5 separate regions of the Homo sapiens genome follow, and all the other regions are linked to region 3. Evidence: promoter capture Hi-C in 16 types of primary human blood cells and fetal thymus (Javierre and others, 2016). All regions are on one chromosome and are shown on one strand. The core of a region is centred on a gene start or on the middle of the fragment in contact, and the rest is flanking DNA. Distances in the headings are between cores, read along the strand shown.

Region 1 (3,730 bases), core at 73-2,572, 770 kb before region 3:
CTTTGGGAGGCCGAGGCGGGCGGATCACGAGGTCAGGAGATCGAGAACATACTGGCTAACACGGTGAAACCCCGTCTCTACTAAAAATACAAAAAAATTAGCTGGGCATGGTAGCGGGCGCCTGTAGTCCCAGCTACTCGGGAGGCTGAGGTGGGAGAACGGCGTGAATTCAGGAGGCGGAGCTTGCAGTGAGCCAAGATCGCGCCACTGCACTCCAGCCTGGGCGACAGAGCAAGACTCCGTCTCAAAAAAAAAAAAAAAAAAAAAACCACAATGAGATACAATCACGGATTCACTAGAATTACTAAAATTAAAGAGATTGACAATACGAAGTATTTACAAAATGTGGAGCTACTGTAACTCATAAATTAGTTATGAGAATATAAAATGATAGAACACTTTGGAAAACAGTCTGGCATATTCTTATAAAGTTAAAATACAATTATCATAGGACCAGCAATGCTGTTTAGGAATCTACACAGGAGAAAGAGAGCATATGTCCACATAAAAAATTTTACATGAATGTTCATAGCAGCTTTATTCATAACAGCCAAAAAAAAAAAAAAAAAAGCAAACAACTCAAATGTCTATGACTAGGTTGATAAATAAACAAATTATAGTATATTCACACACTGGATTACTACTTAGCAATAAAAAAGAGCAAAGTACTTAAACATGTAACACATAAATGACTCAAAAATAAACTGAATGAAAGAAAATACACAAAAGCAAACGTACGAAATTTTAGCAAAGACAAAAACTCAACTAAAGTGACAGATAAGTGGTTGCTTGGGGACTAGGGTGGCGATAATTTGCTACCAAGGGGACAAGGGAACTTTTTGGGATGATGGAAATGTATTGATGACTGTGGTAGTTATAGAGGTTATACATTTGTCAAATCTCATTCACATATAAATATAAGAAATAGGTGCACTTTATTGTGTATAATTCATACCTTAAGTTGATTTGAAAGACCACGACAATGCATGACTCCCTGACAGGACCGCTGGTCAGCTAGCAGCAACCATTTTACTAGTCATATAAGTTTATGTTACACTGATTCACTATTTAGGTTAGGAGGAGAATATAGCTCCTTTGGTACAGCGATGGGGGCTTTGCCTGGCTAGAATTTATCATGCCCTTTGAGCAGTGGGTGATGTGATGAGATATCCCCAGGATGAAGAAAAGGGAAGGCAAAAGTGCAAAAGTCTGTCATATGGTAACTAATATTCTTGACCAGACAACACTTCTATAGGTCCCAGAGAAATCTGAGTAGAGGGAAAGGCCAGACAAATATATGCTATCCCTTGTCAGGATTTTAGCTCCTCATGCTGCATTTACATTGTGAGAAGTGAGTTTTAAGAGATACCAAAAGGGAACAAAGCATTAAGAAAGAACAATTTAGGCTGGGTGCAGTGGCTCATGCCTGTAATCCCAGTACTTTGGGAGGCCGAGGCAGGCAGGTCACCTGAGGTCGCGAGTTCGAGACCAGCCTGAGCAACATGGTGAAACCCCATCTCTACTAAAAACACAAAAGTTAGCCGGGTGTGGTGGTGCATGCCTGTAGTCCCAGCTACTTGGGAGGCTGAGGCAGGAGAATCGCTTGAACCTGGGAGGCAGAGGTTGCAGTGAGCCGAGATCATGCCATTGCACTCCAGCGTGGGCAACAAAGGCGAAGCTCTGTCTCAAAAAAAAAAAAAAAAAAAAAAGAAAGAAAGAAAGAAAGAACAATTTTCATGGGAGCAAGGGTGCATAAACTCCTTAGTGTTCTACTCCCAACCTTTCAACAGTAATAGCCCAGGCTTATATTGTGTTCATTGTGTACTACACATTTCTTTCATATATATATATATATATATATATATATATATATAGTATATGTCATATATAAAGACACATGCTGCATACAGATATTTGTGTGTGTGCACACACATATATATTTTATATATATAGTTATGCATCATTTAATGATGAAAATGTCCTTTGAGAAATGGATTATTAGGCACATTTATCATTATGTGAATATCATAGAGTGTACTTACACAAACCTAGATAGTAATAGCCTACTGCACATCTAGGCTATATGGTGGTCCAGCCTATTGTTGCTGCTTGGCTACAAACCTGTACAGCATGCTGCTAAACTGAATGCTGTAGGCAATTGTAACATAATGGTAAGTATTTGTGTATCTAGACATACCTAAACATAGAAAAAATACAGTAAAAATACAGCGCAAGAGATAAAATAATGGTATATCTGTATAGGGCAGCTCCATTATAATCTTGTGGGACCATAATTGCATATGCAGTCTGTTGTTGGCAGAAGCATTGTTATGTGATGCATAGCTGCATATAATTTATTCCTATCTCATGACAACCTTGATTATCACTCCTATCTGACAGTTTGGTCATTGAGACACAGAAAGAATAACTAGCTTGCCCAAAGTCACACAGCTACTAAGAGACAGACCTAAGATTTAAACCTGTAGATTATGGTGCTTTCCACAATTCTGCCAGTTGTGCTCTTAAGGTATCAGCACTTCAGAACGATTCCCCTCACAGGTAGAATCAAGCAAAGAGAGACTTCACCTCCCAGTTCAGATTGAGAAATATAAAAAAGAACCCCATCCTTTATGTATGTACATATGTATGGTGAGTGTATTTGCTGAAGGTAACTGCCTACTATCACTTATTTGATTTTTCATTTAACAAATATTTGTTAAATGTGTGACTTCCAGGTATCTGATATTATGCCAATCATTGGGGATTCAGAAATAAATACATTGTAATCCCCAGTTTCAAAGGACTGGAAATTCCTCCAGGATGACTGTGAAAGGCACATAGTGCAGAGGAGAGTTAGAACACTGACCACACTAGCTATAGGCTGGATATTTAGGCCATACAATATCCATCTACATTCTCAGGAGACTGTCTGCACTTGACTCACTGAAGGTCACACCTGGGCATCCCTGGGGATCCTCTTATCTTTACCATTAAGCAATGTGAAGCCATAAAATGATTAGGGTTGGCAGGCTTTTAGAGGATTAATGTTCTAACAAATTGGGTGATTTTGCTCAGCTTAGCTATTGAGGATAACATATTGTGAATTTACTGAGCTCATCTGTGACCAGATTCCTCTGCAGGGTAATTGAAAGTGAGTGGAAATGGCTATTTATGTATTCTCAGCCATTAGATGTTGCTTTCATCTCTGATTTCTTTGGATGATGAGTCAAAATATATACTGAGATCATTGCCTGTGGGTTCCACTTTGCATGTTCAATTAACTAAGGCCTGTGCTTAGTACTGGACATTAAAAGACAGATGGTGAAGGGAAGCTGGACTCAGACTTCAGAAGTGACCCACCAGCCAAATGGGGGTATATTTCTGAATTGCATCTTCCTTTAGGGCTTGATGGCCACTAGGGGTGTGAGTTGCCCTCAGCTAAATTCACAGACCTGTGGTAGTGTGGCCCAAAGTGTTCGTCTTGATGTTAAGAATAATTTTAAAACCCCTTAAAAAAGAGCTTTTGGTGAAATTCATCTGAGAGGTTCTGCACTGAACAAGGTTGAATGCATTTCTGTAGTGCAGGATTTTTCAGCATCCTGGGCAGCCTTACATGTGTTGGTACTCTCTAAAAGAAGGTAATAAAATTATCAATCTTATATAAGGGCACCAGCACTTATCAAGCACCTATATATTATTTATTACATTAAATACTTTATATAGATTGCTT
Region 2 (3,937 bases), core at 445-2,944, 740 kb before region 3:
GAGAATTACTAGAGTCCAGGAGGTGGAGGTTGCAGTGAGGCGAGATTGCCCACTGCACTCCAGCCTGGGTGACAGAGTAAGACCCTGTCTCAGAAAAAAAAAAAAAAAAAAAGCCCTTAAATCACCTATGATTTATAGTGTAAATGATTTTGTGATATTTACTATTCAGTAATTATTAAGCATATTGAAACTTGATTACCATTGATCTAGACCAAAGAAAAAAGAATGTGTATATGCTGGTGTCTGGCCCTTTACAGCATTCTGCCTTTGTAGTAACTATTAATTGTCTGGAAGAGAATGGGGAGCAGTGTCCATTCTCAAGCTTGCCTGCTGGTTATAGTCCAGTCTGTTTTTTTCCATAGCCTTAATACATGCTAATAGATTTGTTTGTGGTTGAGGATAAAGAAAACTAGTGGCAAGACTAGGTTCTAAAATCAGAACATGACTTACATTTGTGCAAAATGAGGCTCTACTGTAAACACAAAACTAACTCTTGGTCTGGAACATTTGTTGTTTCAGGTGGATGGGAGGATGGGAATTAGAGCAACTGGGAAATTAGAGCAGCTGAGGCTAGGCGCTGAGGGTGATGAAAACACTGTAGGTAATAGACAGGGAGATGGAGAGGGTTGTGTTAAAACCCGTCTGCTGACCTTCAATTTTTTCCTTGGGCCAGCCCTGGCCAGAGACCTTTCCTCTTTTTAAAATTCCCTTTGCTCCCATATCTGTTCGCTGCTTCCCGCCATCCTGTCTCTCTCCTATGTTCCCTAGTGCTCCTCCCTGGCCTCTTAGCATTCAGCAAGTGAGGCCTAAAGGAAGTTCTCAGTTGGGTAAAAGGAAAGCATAAAGCAGCCTTATCACCACTTCCCTGATTCCTCTGGGGTTTATTGTTATTAATTTTCTTATGCAGTGTTTCTATGAGGCAGCTGTATTTTCAGCTGGAGAAAACTTTGAGACCTTAAGGACAGAAAAAAAAAAAGAGAATCTGTTAAGAAAGAGAGTGAAGAAATTTAAAAGTCAGTATTTCTTTATATAGTATCAACTGTAGCCAGTTCCCATTTTTTCTACAAAATCTTCCCTGGGTGAATAGAAGGTAGATGGCCACTCTCTCTGATCTAATGGTTTCCCATTTCTTTTTTTTGGCACAAAGTTATGAACAATAAAATTCCTCAGTATCTAGTGAAACCATTTATTCACTTGTTATGTCAGCCTATAAATTTGCTAGGAAGTTAATTAGTGATTTAGGTGCTCTGACCATTACAAAAGCCATAAATCTCTCTATAGATCCATAAAGGTACGTCTCTACCTCTTACCCTATTTCCTTCTTTGGTAGAAAATAAAAGGGGGGCATATGATGTACTTTGTTGTTTGTTTATTGCAAAGATTAAATGAGACAATGTATGTGAAAACCCTAATCATTACTTAGCACACCAAACAGTTCAATGCATGCTATTTTCACTTTTTTTCTTTAGATGAACACTCCCACACTCCAGATGTTTCTGTTCTTATCAGAACCTGGTGCCTATTCCTTCAGAACCCTGAGAGGTGGCAAGAAACAATAGGACATGTGAATTTATGCTAAAGCTATTGGAGAGCTTATAATGCCAGAAGCAGAAAGGTGGGGATGGAGTGGTACACAGTTAGCTTTCATATCCATTACAGCAGATTTATATTTCTTTAAGTTGTGCTTTGCAGGTTAGAACTCTTCTTGTTTATGGGGACAATCCCTACCTGATTAAGATAGAAGAAAACTAGTGAGATCCTTAGCAATGTCTTTGAATTTTAATTAATTAACTAATTTATTTATTTATTTTTATTTTTTTGAGACAGAGTCTCGCTCTGTTGCCCAGGCTAGAGTGCAGTGGCATGATCTCGGCTCACTGCAACCTCTGTCTCTTGGGTTCAAGCGATTTTCCTGCCTCAGCCTCCCAAGTAGCTGGGATTACAAGCATGTGCCACCACTCCTTGCTAATTTTTTTTTTTTGTATTTTTTTTTAGTAGAGACAGGGTTTCACCATGTTGACCAGGCTGGTCTCGAACTCCTGACCTCAGGTAATCTGCCCGTGTTGGCCTTCCAAAGTGCTAGGATTATAGTCGTGAGCCACTGCGCCCGGCTGTTTTTTAATTTTTAATTTTATTTTTCTTCTATAGACCCAGGAACTTGAGTTAGCAGTGTTAGGTAATCTGCAAACAAAATGATTTTTGTAGTCGAAGTACCTGGGTTTTTTTCAATTTCTTTTAAAAATATATTGATGTTAACACCCTAAACCCATAAGGATGGGAATTTTTTTTGTTGTTCTTTTTATTGCAGCATCCTGGTCATTTAGAGCAGTGCCTGACACATGATATAAACCCCCGAAGTTTTGTTGAATAAATGAAGGAATGAACAATCTTGTTTAAGTAGACTAATACAAGACAATCTACGCTCTGCCTCTCTAGTATATCTGAGAATGTCTTGTAGGTATTCTCAGGAGTGCTGAGAAAAGATGTTTTTGAGAGACTTCTATGTATCTTGCATTATGTTGGGCTCTTGGGATTTTGTGGTTAACAAGTTAGTCATGCTCCCTGCCATGAAATGAGCATATAGTTTAGTGGGGAAAAGAAAGACTTAAAAAGTGAATATAAGAGGGATGGTTTTTATGGGGAAAAAAAACAAAACGTACAGAGAGTGGAGCAATGTGAGCACTGTAGGAGACCCAGCATGTGAACAGAGGCAGCATTCTGAAAGCAAGTCTCAGAGAACATGAAAACATCTTAAAAACAAAAACAACAAAAATTTCAAATGAAAGGTATTATCAGCAAAGGCCTTGTGATTAATTAGCTGCTCTATCTCTTTCCTGGGGTACAAAGTGAGGAGGACAATTGTCTCAGTGGTTCTGACGTGTGTATGACCCTGAGATGCAGTTAAGGAATCAAGCCTGAATAGGTCAGCAAGCCACTTGTTCTAAAATTCTTCTTGGGAGGAAACATCTGTGTCTCTTTCAGGATGCCAGCCATCACATGGGTCTTTCAACATTAGCATATTTTTCAGCCATCTGCAGTGGTTGCCTCCCTCCCACACAAGCTTAGTCACTGCACACAAACACACCTTTGTCCAAACTTCAGTACCAGGCTTTACAATGAAAGTCTCTGTGGCATCTCCGTGGAACCACATTTCCCAAGAGTGCTGCATAGCTATTTTACTTGCAATGCATTTATCACTTTTTAGCTCATTTGAATGCATGGGAAAACACAGAAGACTGTTGTCGTAGGTGGTGGTGTTTTATGGTTGTTATTGTTTTTCCTTAAAGTCATAGGGTAAAAGAAAGCTTGAAATATCATTTGTTTTCACTTCCTACTAGGCAATTAGGTAGACCCACTCTTAAATAAAACCTCTAATTTAGTATCCTCTCATTTTCAACTCACCTACAGTGATGAAGTTCTACAGGCTCCCTATGTTAAATTATTCTAGCGTTAATAAACCTTATTTTTGAAAATTTCTTTTACTTTTAGCTAAAGTATCTTCCATTGTCTCTGGAGGTAAATGTTAAGTTTCAGTTGTAGAACTACATCAGCTTATGATACAGTTAAGAGCAAAGGTCTTGGAATCAGGCAAATGTAAGTTCAAATTTGACCTCTGCTTCTGATGAACTGTGTGATTTGAGACAATTATATGACATTTTGCATACCAGTTTCCTTTTCTTCATCTGTAAACTGAAGAAACTAACACTCATATCAAGAGAATAATGTCTGCGACCATGATATTGACCCAGTTTCTCCCCCGTAATGAGTATTTGATGTATAGTGGTTATCATTATTGTAATGTTTAAAGTATCTAATAATAATATTGGGAGGAGGAACCATGAATGTTTTGGATTTGTTCCCTTCACAGCCCTTAGTGCCATGGATATGGTAGGTACTCAGGATTTGTGTATAAATGATTAACAAAAAAGTAAGATAG
Region 3 (4,209 bases), core at 687-3,186:
TACGCCCATTTTACACGTGAGGAAACTGAAAGCACAGAAAGGGAAAATGACTTGCCTAAGGTTATAGAGCTAGGAAAGGGCAGAACTGGAATTTAGAACAAAAATGGGCAGGCTGAAGATCCTTTTCTCTTAATGACCTTCGCATGCTGTCTCCTGAGAGACATGGAAATAAAAAATGAATAGAATAGACTCTGGTAATGTTTAGTGGTATGAAAAATGAAACAGGGTGATGTGATGGTGTACAAACACAAGTGTTGGAGGGGTGGGGGTAGGAAAACCTCACTGTGATACCTGAGACATGAAGGATGGTGATACAGTTACTTTGGGGCACAGGCAACAGAGAAAAGCTAGTGCAAAGGCCCTAAAATAGAAGGAATCTTGCCCTGTTTTATAAAACAGAAATGCCCACTTGGCTGTGTCTAGAGCTTAGTGCGTAAGCGAGTGACTGATTGGAAGTGAAGTCTGGAAGGTAGGCAGGAACCAGACTCCGTGGGGTCTCAGGTCACATTAAGAAATGTGATTTTTATTCTAAGTGCAGTGAAATTGTACACAGGATAGTAACACCATTTTATTAATTTTAAAAGATCACTCTCTTGGCTATATGCAACACTGACTGTAGGATAAAAGATGACGCAGGAAGATATAATAGGAAGCAATTACAATCCAGGTAGGAGATGGTGTTGGCAAAGGCAAGGGTAGTGGCAGTAGAATAAAATTGCGGGTGAGTTTTAAAAGTAGAATTGTTAAGACCTGTAAATGAACCGTATGTGAAGAGTGAATGAAAAGGAATTTAAGTAGGCACTCCGGGATTTTGGTTTGAGTAACTAGCATGATGATCGCGTCTTTTAGTGAGACTTGTTAAGACTGGAGGAGGGATACCTTCGGTAAGAAAAATCAGGATTTTCATCTTGAACTCTATGACTGAAAGGGCTTTTTCTGCTTTTCTTTCTTCATTAAAAAGTTGCAAAGAATTTAGGGGTAAGAAAGCATTTAAATATTCAATTTTGTGAGTTCCTTACATTTTAAACTAAGTTGGGGAAGTTGAATTTTCATTTGTTTAACAAATATTAATTGAGCAGCTACTATACGTCAAGGTCTATGTGATGAGATACCAAGATGAGCTAAACAACCAAGATCTCTATTCTCAGAATTTGTTTTTATGGAAGGGAGGAGAGACGACTGGTAGGTTTTTGGTTTTCGGGTTTTCTACTTTTCGTTGTCTTATTAAAACTTAACACTTAAGTAGCCATCTTAATAATTACATCTTGTGCTCCTGGTAGTTGGGCCCACCATTGTAAACGCTCTCGTAAATACTGACATCTCCCCTCCCACTAAAACTAACGTTTTTTAAATAAGAAATTTTAGCAAACATTACGAATACAACCTTTGCTTTGAAGTGTTAATATTTTTGCAGGAATGGTACCTTTGTAAAGATCGTGGTTGCCCCGTACATATTTGTTCTTTCTTCATATCCAATTAAATGAAAACACTAGTTTTTCCGAAGCCCAACTCTCTAGGTTTGTTGGTTCTAGCTCAGGAGAAAGGATGGAAGCAGGAGTCGTTGGATTTAAACAGTTTGGTGTAATCCTTTTCCACGCTCTCTCCCGCTAGCCGGGGACGTGGTGTCGGCTACCCGGGGCTTTCCGTCCACGCAGTACCGGAATGAAGGAGTCTGGGAGGGGGTCGGGGACGGAAAAGACGGAAGAGACATTAAGTAATTGGTTCTTGAAGGTATAAAATGAGGTTTAGGGTCTACTCTAAGGCACTGATTTCAAACGCCCGCCCCCTGGGCCGCTTCGGCCCCGCCCCTTAGTGCCGTTACGCCGACTTCCACTTCGGCCACTGCGGATTGGTCGTTGCTTCCGCCCCCGAAGCGCTTGGATTTTGCTTCCGGGTCGTAGGCGCTAGCTCTGGGCGCAGAGGTTTCTGGGAGCCAAGAGTGGTAATGGCGTCTGTATGATCTTCGGAGCCTGCTGCATCGGACCTCGGCCAGTGTGAGCGGCAAGAGGATAGGAGATTATCTTTCTTATCGCGATGGGACGGGAAAGGGCAGTTGGGGTCGGAGTCGGCGGCAGAGTGCAGAGCGCGGGCGGTGGAGGCCCTGGAGCAGCGGGCTAGGGGCGGAACCGAGTGCCTGTCAGGCGCGTCTGGAGCTCTTGGGCCCGCCGAGGAGATCGCAGCGTACAGGCAGCTCGCCTACTGCGTAAAGCGAACCCCAGGTCCTCCCTTCACTACCCTTCGCACCCCTGCAGTGCTGGGCACGGGTGAAGAGGCAGCGAGTTTCTGGTTATAGCCAAAGACTAGCTCACGGGAGGCCGGAGTGATAATTCCGTGGGTGTGTGGGAAGGGGCGGCGCCCCCAGCGCCAGATAACCCTGTTTTCTTCTTTGTATACATGTCTCTACCCTTTTTGAAAGTTGAGAGAATTAGCATCGCCCCCCCCCCAAAAAATCCTCCCAATTCGCCCACCCTCCCCACACACTTGCTTTTCCGACACTAACAGGGTTTTAGTGACTGCATCTGCTGCACAGTATTCTTGTGACTGCTCCAAGCAGAAAGTAACTTGAGGAATGAGTCCCTGATTTTTGGCATCAGAATCCTCTGGGGGTGAGGTTCCTGTTTTTTTTGAACAGGCCTTAAATTATAACCCACAAACGATCTAATTTATAGTATGATGCCTGTTGTAGGAGAAAATTGGCTCAACAAACGGTTGTTTAAGAATTTTTTTCTGTGTAACTGTCATTGAAGTTTAACACACTTTTCTCTGGGACATTTAGTAACTTTGTCAGTGATATTTTTTGTTTGTTTTTAGCTTTTGTTTCTACTAGCCTATTTGCTATTGTGTGAAGTTTAGATAAAATGCAAACCTTACAGAGTCTGGTAGAGTAAGGTTGAGTTGGAAATTTTTAAAACTCAGTCATGGCAGTACTGTATTTTACTAGGGTTTTGACATGTCAAGTGTCATAATTCTTATAATCTATGAGGAATATCTCCATTCCACAGATGACAAAGTTAAGCCAGGTGACTTGCTCAAGCCCATATAGTCAGAAGGAGAATAGGGATGCAAACTCAGATCTTCATGACAGAATTTTTTGTACTAAGGCAAGCCTGAGAAGCCATATTCCTTGTACAGCCTAAGCCTCATAATTTGTTTTCTTGAAAACTTTTGTTTAAGAAGATTAAGCAGGTTTTGGGGAATGAGTTTTAGAACTTATTTTACCAGTATGGATATTGATTAATACTCTATAAAATGAGTGTTTGTAATGTTGGAAATAACTTGATTATATTTTTCTTCAAAGCATAAAAGATGACAACAGCAGCCAGGCCAACCTTTGAACCTGCCAGAGGTGGAAGGGGAAAAGGAGAAGGTGATTTGAGCCAACTTTCAAAGCAGTATTCAAGCAGAGACCTACCCTCTCATACAAAGATAAAATACAGGTAGTAAGACTTTCTTTTTTTATTGTTCACAAAACAAGACCAGATCTGTTAAATGGCATGGTCATGATATAGTAGTATGTTTGAGTTATGTCACTTATCTATTTTCATAGGAATAGAATGCAATAGGATGTTTAACACTAAAATTCTGCTGTGATTTTAAAATGTGAAATTCCTACTAACCAGGAATTTTCATATGTAGATAGAACAATAAATAATAGAAATAATAATGCCTCAGAGTATGCACTATGAGCACCAGTCAGTATATTAAAAGTATTACTGTTAAGTTCTGAGTTGATATAATCCTAATAAAAATTAAAGACATTTTAATCACTGTAAAGCCTTATTATAGGAAAATATGTGATTGAATTTGGACTTCTTGAAATATTGGGAACATCACAAGAGTGGCTGTTAGTAACCTTCAGATTAAATTATGATCTTGTCTACTTCCCTTTTTTCTGCTTGAAGGACAAAGTCTCATTCCTGAATTGTCTTCCATTACTACAGTCTCTGTGTGTGTGTGTGTGTGTGTTTAAGTAACATTTTTGCCCTGGTTTGTTTCTACTTTAGACAGACTACTCAGGATGCCCCTGAAGAGGTTCGTAACCGTGACTTCAGGAGAGAGTTGGAAGAAAGAGAGAGAGCTGCTGCAAGAGAGAAAAATAGGGATCGTCCAACCCGAGGTACCAACACTATCCAAGACATTTGTCTCATAAAATTATGTTGTTGATAGTTTTTCTTTATGTAGCAATTGGAAAATGTTAACCATTTGTTT
Region 4 (3,829 bases), core at 700-3,199, 830 kb before region 3:
ATGAGGCCTTTCCCAGGGCCTGTGAGGTCAACACTATTTTCATAATACTATTAATAGTAAGACTTCACTTTTTTCACTGTGTTGAAGTTTGCCAATGATCATGCAAAAGCAATGTTGGGTAAAATTCCTAATTTTAGCTCAAATCAAGGTAGTAACACTAAACTACTATTTTAGGCATTGTATTCTTCACTGTCATAAATTCCCAGTAAGAAAAACTAAGCCACAATGTCCTTGATGAAGCAATAAAAATCATGTCAGGTTTGCCAGGCACGGTGGCTCACACCTGTAATCCCAGCACTTTGGGAGGCTGAGGTGGGCGGATCACGAGGTCAAGAGATCGAGACCATCCTGGCCAACATGGTTAAACCCTGTCTCTACTAAAAATACAAAAATTAGCCAGGTGTGGTGGCATGTGTCTGTAATCCCAGCTACTCAGGAGGCTGAGGCAGGAGAATTGCTTGAACCTGGGAGGCAGAGGTTGTAGTGAGCCAAGATCATGCCACCGCACTCCAGCCTGGGTGACAGAGTGAGACTGTCTCAAAAAAAAAAAAAAAAAAATCATGTCACGTTTATAAACCTTTCACATGCTGTACTCTTGTTGAACTTTTCTTCTTATAGAACTGTGCTCATTCTTTAAAACTCAGATTATCTATTATTTCGTTTTTCCTCTGAGAGGTTTTCCTCTCCTTTAACCTCCCCAACACACTTATCCCTATCCCCAACAAATGTCTTTTCTGAACTCTCTTGGTCTTTGTTCATATCTCACAGCCTTTATTTTTTTTCTGGGTGAGAAGGGGATAGTGATTTCTGTGTCTTTCCTTCCCATTTGGAAAGTAAGTATCGTTGGATTAAAACACTATAAAAGGATAATGGATTATAATAATTATCCTGGGACATTGCTTAAATAGTTCACCGCATCATGCTCTAAAGGCATAAAAGCTTAAAGGTTACTTTTTATCTTGTTTATTTCTCCTCTCCGTCTCCTCCCTGCTTGTCTCACTTCTCTTTTATTCCTTAAAACCACTGATGTTGCACTCAAGCAGAATTTAGCTCTATTAGTAACATGCTGTGCTAAAATTTTTCTGATTCTCGGTGAATAAATCTGCCTTCTTAATATTTCTTATTCTTTGCTAGTAATTTGTCATTTTTTTGAACTTTTTAAAAGTTTCCTTTCATGGGTGTAAAGATCAGAACTAGATACAATATTATAGTTGAAGGATTAATATCTAATTCTTAGATTTTGTGTTCCTGTTAGAACTTTGTAAATGGATATTTTGTTTTGTGCTTATTTTTGAATAAGAAACTTACTGCAACTGATTTTTGCTCTACTGTGGGCTTCAGTCATTTTTTTTTTTTTTTTTTTGCTTTTTAAAATCTATGTTGTTTGAATGTCATGCAACTTAATTTTCTTAAATTGCCAACCTGCTATACTCTGATGTGTAGAACCTTATCAGTTGCTTTAACCATTAATTAAAAATTTTCGTTATCATCGAGACACAGTATCTTATAATAAAGAGGCTTCTAGGTTAGTGATTACAGAGTACTAAAATTCTTAAAAGACATCACACTATTTAGTTACTTTTATTTCAGTAAACACTTTTCAGCACCCATTATAGGTTAGGATTTAAGCTGGTATTTGGATATCATTACCTACTTGGTATTTTACTGTACAATCAGTCCAGTTTACAAAACAGGTTCATTCTGAGATTTTTAGGATACTTACAATATATATCCCAACTGAAACAAAAAATGTTCCTCAACTAATTTACAAATGCCTGTTTAGCCTACGATGTCAAAAATATTTCTTTTACCTAGAGAATCATTAACACATAGAATTGTTGCAATATTAGTGATTAAACACAACTTTCAAAAAAAGGAAATGCCACAGCATCCCAAATAAAGCAAAGATATTTCATTTAAACTTCACACAAAGTATGAGGTAGGTGTATTTTAAAAGATACAGATGAAGAAACATCTAAAAGACGATTAACAAATTCAATATCAAAACCATCTTTTCATTATCTGAGTGGGCCCAATCTGATAACATAACCAGAAAATTTTCTCCCGCTGTGGTTAGAGAAATGTAACAACAGAACTCAGAGAGATTTGAAACATAAGAGACTTGGCCAGGCGCGGTAGCTCATGCCTGTAATCCCAGCACTTTGGGAGGCCAAGGCGGGTGGATCACGAGGTCCAGAGATTGAGACCATCTGGGCCAACATGGTGAAACCTCGTCCCTACTAAAAATACAAAAACTAGCTGGGCGCGTCTGTAGTCCCAGCTACTCAGGAGGCTGAGGCAAGAGAATAGCAATAGCTTGAATCCAGGAGGCGGAGGTTGCAGTGAGCCGGGATCCCGCCACTGCACTCCAGCCTGGTGACAGAGTGAGACTCTGTCTCCAAAAAAACAATAAAAAATAAAAAAAAAAAAGAAACATGAGAGACTACCTACTGTTACCGTAGGAGACAATAAGGGAAACATGAAGGAAGGAGGACAGTTTCTAGGAGCAAAGACTGTCCTCAAGTAAAAGTCTGCAAAGCAACAGAATCTCAGTACTGCAATGACAAGGAACTGAATTTGGCTAAGAATCTTAATGAGCTTGGAAGCAGATCTTCCCCAGAGCCTCTAGTAAAGAACAGAGCCCCAAGCAAAGCCTTGATTTCAGCCTTGTAAGGCTCTAAACAGAGGACCCAGATAAGCCTACACAGATTTCCGACCTACAGAAAACTGAGATAACAAATATTTAAAGCTAAGTTCATGGCAATTTGTTAAGGCGACAAGAAAACTAATACAGATGGCAGGTTCCAGGAATAAATGTATTTCAAAGTAGCCAGAGCAAAGGATGGGAAAGGAAAAAACAGAAGACAAGTTAGGGATGAAGCTGGTGAGGCATATAGGGTCTAGGTTATGAAAAATTAAGAATTTATTATGTAAGCTATGAAGAGATGCTAAAGCTTTAATTTTGTGGGAGAGATGATGGATAATGACAAATGACAGAAATGTTGTTAACTGGGGATGAGGAGGAGAAAACAGGCAGGGAGATTAATGAGGAATGTACTATGAACATCTGGGCTACAGATGATGAAAGCCTGAACCAAAGCAATGAGAACACAAAAAGGCAGAAAAAACAGTATGCTTTTGGTATATTTCAGAAGCAAAAAAAGGTCTTCATTCCGGACTAATAGTGGGGATTACAGAGCAGTCACTGATGACTCAAAGTGTTTTAGCATCAGTAATTTGGTGGATGATGATGTTCAACAATCAATATAAGGAATACAAGAAAAGCATAATATTTTCTGGGGGCTGAAACTGGAAGCAAAGGGGAAATATATTTTCCTCTAATGGCAAAATAATGGAGGACAAAGTTAAGAATTTTAAAGCAGCAAGAAAACACAAATAACATTTATTTCGTTAGGCTCGATTACCTCTGCTGTTGCTTTCTGGATAGGCAAGTGTAGGCTTACTTGGGGAGCGTCGTAGATCACTATTAAGGAAAGGCTTATCCGAAGGATATACTACATATGGAGATGAAGAATGCCGAACCATGCTTCCATTAGACCTTGATGGCTCAGCAAAGCTGTTCTAAAAAATAAAGACACAAATTACCTTTCAAAAGTGTGAACCACAAATAGCAGATTTAAATCACAAATATTTATGACTGAGATTGACTGTCCATACAGACAACAGAAAAAATCCACTGACTAGAAACAATACAATTCAATCATTAAAGAAATACAACTTTTAAAGTGTTTCATATTAGTCTGAATATAGCCATATGCCAGACACAAGAAGAAAATAATGTTCATACAACTTGAATACAAATGCTGTG
Region 5 (3,898 bases), core at 719-3,218, 790 kb before region 3:
TGATGATGGTGTTGCAGCTATCTTTTTAGAGTCCTAGAGACACCTACTAAAATATTTATAATGAAATGGTATGATGATTGGTATTTGCTTCAAAATAGTATAGGGAGGGAGATACGAGAATATAAATGAAACAGGATTGGGTGTGAGTTGTTAATTTTTGAAACTGGGTGATAGTTATATGGTGGTTTATTATACTATATTCAACTTTTGTGTAAATTTTTTCTTAATAACAAGTAACACTACCACCATCACCCCTGCCTGCCAAGTTACGCTCAATTTGAACAATACATGCTTATTGAAAAAAAAAATGCACAGCACAAAAATCAGGAGAAAAAAGAAAAAACCACTCACAGTTCTCCCAGGTGACATATTTGTTTCTGTTTTATATGTTTTCTTGCAGCATTGTGAGTAATGGCTATGATCATGCCACAATGTAATTCTGGTTCCTGTTTCCATTCTTCCTTTCTCCCCCTACTTAACAAAAACAATTTCCACACTAAAACAACAACAGCGATTATTTGTTGTCATTTCATAGCTGTGCATGTGAGGCATTTAAGACCACTATTAAATATTTAAGACGACTTTTTAGTGTAATGTCAGGTTTCAAATCCCACTTTGCCATTTGCTAGCTAGGTGTCTTGGAGGTGTACTTAATATCTCTGAGTTTCAGTTTCCTCATCTGTGTAATTACAGAGTTATTAATGAACATTAAGGTAAAGTATTGATACACAAAGCACTTTACATAATATAATAATAGATTTATAATATGACTTTTAATCAATTAAAAATAATACATAAGGTAATATAAAGGCTAACTACCTTTTCAACTTTGGAGCATGTCCCTTGATGCAGTCGATGAAAATTCTATTAGGGTTGATTAATGGCATCATAGTTTTCAGCCATGGAAACTTTTTTTTTTAAATAAAATCTTATCAAGAGTCCCAATATATAAAACAAAAGCTGATACACTGGTTGACGTCGAGGCAAGGATTGGTATCCCTTTCATAGTAGGATCAAACATGGCAGATGCTGGTACTGTGTCCTTGATCCTTGATGCGACATAATTTAAATGTCACAGTTATTTGAATTATATCTGAGTTTTTGCTAATTTTTAATTGAGAATCTCAATGAGTGATATCTTACTGTATAGACATTTTCATTTCAGGGAGGTGAATTTCCTGTTAAATTTAATTATCAGTTGAACATGTGTTATGTGCTGCTATGCACCAGTCACTATGCTAATTACTACAAAGATGCAAAGATAAATCTTATTCCCAGGAGCTCATAATCTAGAAGAGACAGCTAGGTAAATAAATCATTGCAGAAAGTATAATAAAGTATAGATATTCACAAATGTTTACATTAGGGAGGGACTTACTAAGATGAAACCATTTTGTGTAAAGAGAAAAAATGTCCAAAGGTTCATGACTTCTAGAACATCACATTTGCCTGTTTTTTTTGTTTGTTTGTTTTGTTTCGTTTTTTAACCCCTTACCTTTCGTGATGCTTTTCAGTTTCTTTTGTTGGTTCCTTCTCTTATCCCTTACATGGAATGGTTGGAGTTGCTCAGGGCTCTTTTTTTGCTTTCTTGGTAAACTCATTAATATTACCTATAAGCCTAATGACTCCCAAACTTACAGTAACGGCCTAGACCTCTCCCCCTAATTTCCAGAATTTCTATTCAATGAAACTTGGTATCTCCATCTGGGTGTCTTACAAAGGCTCTCAAGTTTTACACGTCCAAAATGATGTACTCTTTATCTGCACTCCCCAGTCCAAACAACTACCAAGGCAGCCACTCTGCTATCTTCCCATCTCTGATAATGGCAACTCAATTTTAGTTGTTACAGGCCAAAATCCTTGATGATATTGTTGACTCTTTTTCTCCCACTTCATGGCTGTTCTTTGAAAAGTTCTGCAAGCTCTAACTTCAAGTTTGACCTTTTTTTTTTTTTTTTTTTTTTTGTCATCTCCAATCCTAACTGGTATCTCTGTTGTCTGCAGTCTGTTCTCAACAAAGAGTGATCCTATTAAAAGATGTCATGTCATGTTATCCCTCTATTCCAGTGGTTCTCAACTGAGGGTGATTTTGCTCCCCTGGGGATATTTGGCAATGTCCGGAGACATTTTTGATTATCACACTGGTGGGGTTGGGGAGAGGTTGCTACTAGCATCAAGTGAGTGGATGCCAGGGATGCTGCCAAATATTCGACAATGCACGAAACAGCCCTATGCAATAAAGAATTTGTTAACTGAAAATGTCAGTAGTCTCAGCCGAGGGTTGAGAACCCCTGCTTAGTTCATTGGCACTGCTATAACATAACACCTTAGATTCGGTAGCTTATGAACATTAGAAATTTATATCTCATGGTTGCAGAGGCTGGGAAGTCCAAGATCAAGGAATTGGTAGATTCTGTGTGTGATAAGGACCCATGCTCATAAACAACCTTCTTGCTGTGTCTTTACACGGTGGAAAGGGCAAGGCAGCTCTCTGGGGCCTCTTTTTTAAGGGCACTAATCCCATTCATTGGATCAGATTTCTCATGACATAATCATCTCCAAAAGGCCTCACTTTCTAATACCATCACCTTGGTGATTAAAATAAAACATATAAATTTGGGAGGGAATGCAAACATTCAGACCATACCAGCTGCTCTACTCAAAACTCTAAAATAGTTTTACATCTCAGCTCTTATAATGGCCTAAAAGCCCTGTAAGAAAAGTCTTTATACCACACTACAGCTATTCTCCACCTCTTTTCTTTAATTCTGTAAATATTAAGAGGAAATAAAATGTATTTAAAAGTGTTAACCCTTTTTCTTAAAATTCCTACCTATTTCCACTAGGGGGAGGGCTTCACTACTAAATAATACAGTATTTTCACTTGCCACGTTGTTACAGGAGTCACTGTAATCAGAGCAAGCATCCTCATACTCTTTGTAACAATGTTTCATTATGTACGGTAACCCATTTTCAGATGCAATTTATTTTTCACAATTCCAGTGTACATTTTTTTTTCCATTCGATAAAAGTGAGTTTTAAAATATAATTTTGTCTTTGAATGGATTGTTTTTGAATTTGCAAATACTATTTTAAGGAGTTGCTTTAAAGATTTCCATACTGGATTTTTTTGTGCACATTTCTTTCCCTCTAAATCCAGTCCTACTGATGCACTAGGTGCAACATTTATTTGGTCCCTCCTTCATCTATCTGTGAGGAAGTTCCTGCACCCAGTATACCCAGGGGTAACATAATAGGTTAAGAAATCATCAATTCTAAATCAGAAGCCTACTATCTCCAACTAAGCCATTGTCTCCTAGAGAGACATGACATGGGCACTGCATTATTGAGCTTTTCATTGTCAATGCACCCCTGGAAGCCTGGAATTCTACAGTACACAACCTGTGCAGCCATGAAACCAAGGCTGAGGCTTGGATTACCCCCTGGGCTAGAAATAGGCTTTGAATCAAGCCATCGCATGTATTAAATGCCTCCTAAATGATCGTTCTTTGTAGATGTTGCTCATTTTTGCACATTCTATGTGACATGAATTTTTCTTCAAGAGGATTATTAGGCCTCCCCTATTATTCATGGAACAATGTCTACTGGGACATCAAGGGTTCATAAGGGCTGGACCATTCACCTTCTGTTGTGACCCCCTCTTTTATCAATGCAGCTAGAAAAACTGTACAGTTTAGAAAATACCTGAAAAGTGATGACTGAAACTGAAAACGATGAGGTGGAACAGCAGTGAGAAGGTAACCTGAGAAACCTGGAAAGTAGCTGAAAGGAAGGTGGGGCACTGGGAAAAGTGGAGTTCATACAAAAACCAAACACCAGCCGGGTGTGGTGGCTCACGCCTGTAATCCTAGCACTTTGGCAGGCTGAGGCGGGTGGA

Evidence for each region. Contacts are between HindIII fragments. The CHiCAGO score rates a contact against its expected background, and 5 or more counts as called.
Region 1: a fragment that was not itself captured here is called in contact with the fragment with the promoter of CWC15 in region 3 in 2 of 17 cell types (total CD4 T cells and M2 macrophages); the score reaches 5.9 in total CD4 T cells.
Region 2: a fragment that was not itself captured here is called in contact with the fragment with the promoter of CWC15 in region 3 in 3 of 17 cell types (activated CD4 T cells, non-activated CD4 T cells and M2 macrophages); the score reaches 6.9 in activated CD4 T cells.
Region 4: a contact is called between a fragment that was not itself captured here and the fragment with the promoter of CWC15 in region 3, in 1 of 17 cell types (non-activated CD4 T cells). The highest score is 8.7, in non-activated CD4 T cells.
Region 5: a fragment that was not itself captured here is called in contact with the fragment with the promoter of CWC15 in region 3 in 2 of 17 cell types (naive CD8 T cells and monocytes); the score reaches 6.8 in naive CD8 T cells.

What each region holds. Positions count from the first base shown.
Region 1 is chr11:95,738,976-95,742,705 of GRCh38, reverse strand. No RefSeq gene overlaps it. Among named protein-coding and RNA genes, the nearest start is that of FAM76B, 49 kb to the left of the region's middle. The HindIII fragment of the contact is 8,213 bases long and covers 1-3,730 here.
Region 2 is chr11:95,715,070-95,719,006 of GRCh38, reverse strand. No RefSeq gene overlaps it. Among named protein-coding and RNA genes, the nearest start is that of FAM76B, 73 kb to the left of the region's middle. The HindIII fragment of the contact is 2,739 bases long and covers 325-3,063 here.
Region 3 is chr11:94,971,283-94,975,491 of GRCh38, reverse strand. CWC15 (CWC15 spliceosome associated protein) reads left to right here and starts at 1,936. Exons shown (of 7, transcript NM_016403.4): 1 at 1,936-1,994; 2 at 3,299-3,437; 3 at 4,005-4,117. The coding sequence starts at 3,307. It overlaps KDM4D (lysine demethylase 4D), which reads right to left and starts at 1,783. Exons shown (of 3, transcript NM_018039.3): 1 at 1,424-1,783. RefSeq lists enhancers at 1,530-1,679, 2,000-2,169, 1,884-2,659. The HindIII fragment of the contact is 9,854 bases long and covers 1-4,209 here.
Region 4 is chr11:95,798,985-95,802,813 of GRCh38, reverse strand. CEP57 (centrosomal protein 57) reads right to left here. Exons shown (of 11, transcript NM_014679.5): 2 at 3,426-3,582. Among named protein-coding and RNA genes, the nearest start is that of CEP57, 10 kb to the right of the region's middle. The HindIII fragment of the contact is 2,015 bases long and covers 942-2,956 here.
Region 5 is chr11:95,763,431-95,767,328 of GRCh38, reverse strand. No RefSeq gene overlaps it. Among named protein-coding and RNA genes, the nearest start is that of FAM76B, 24 kb to the left of the region's middle. The HindIII fragment of the contact is 5,772 bases long and covers 1-3,898 here.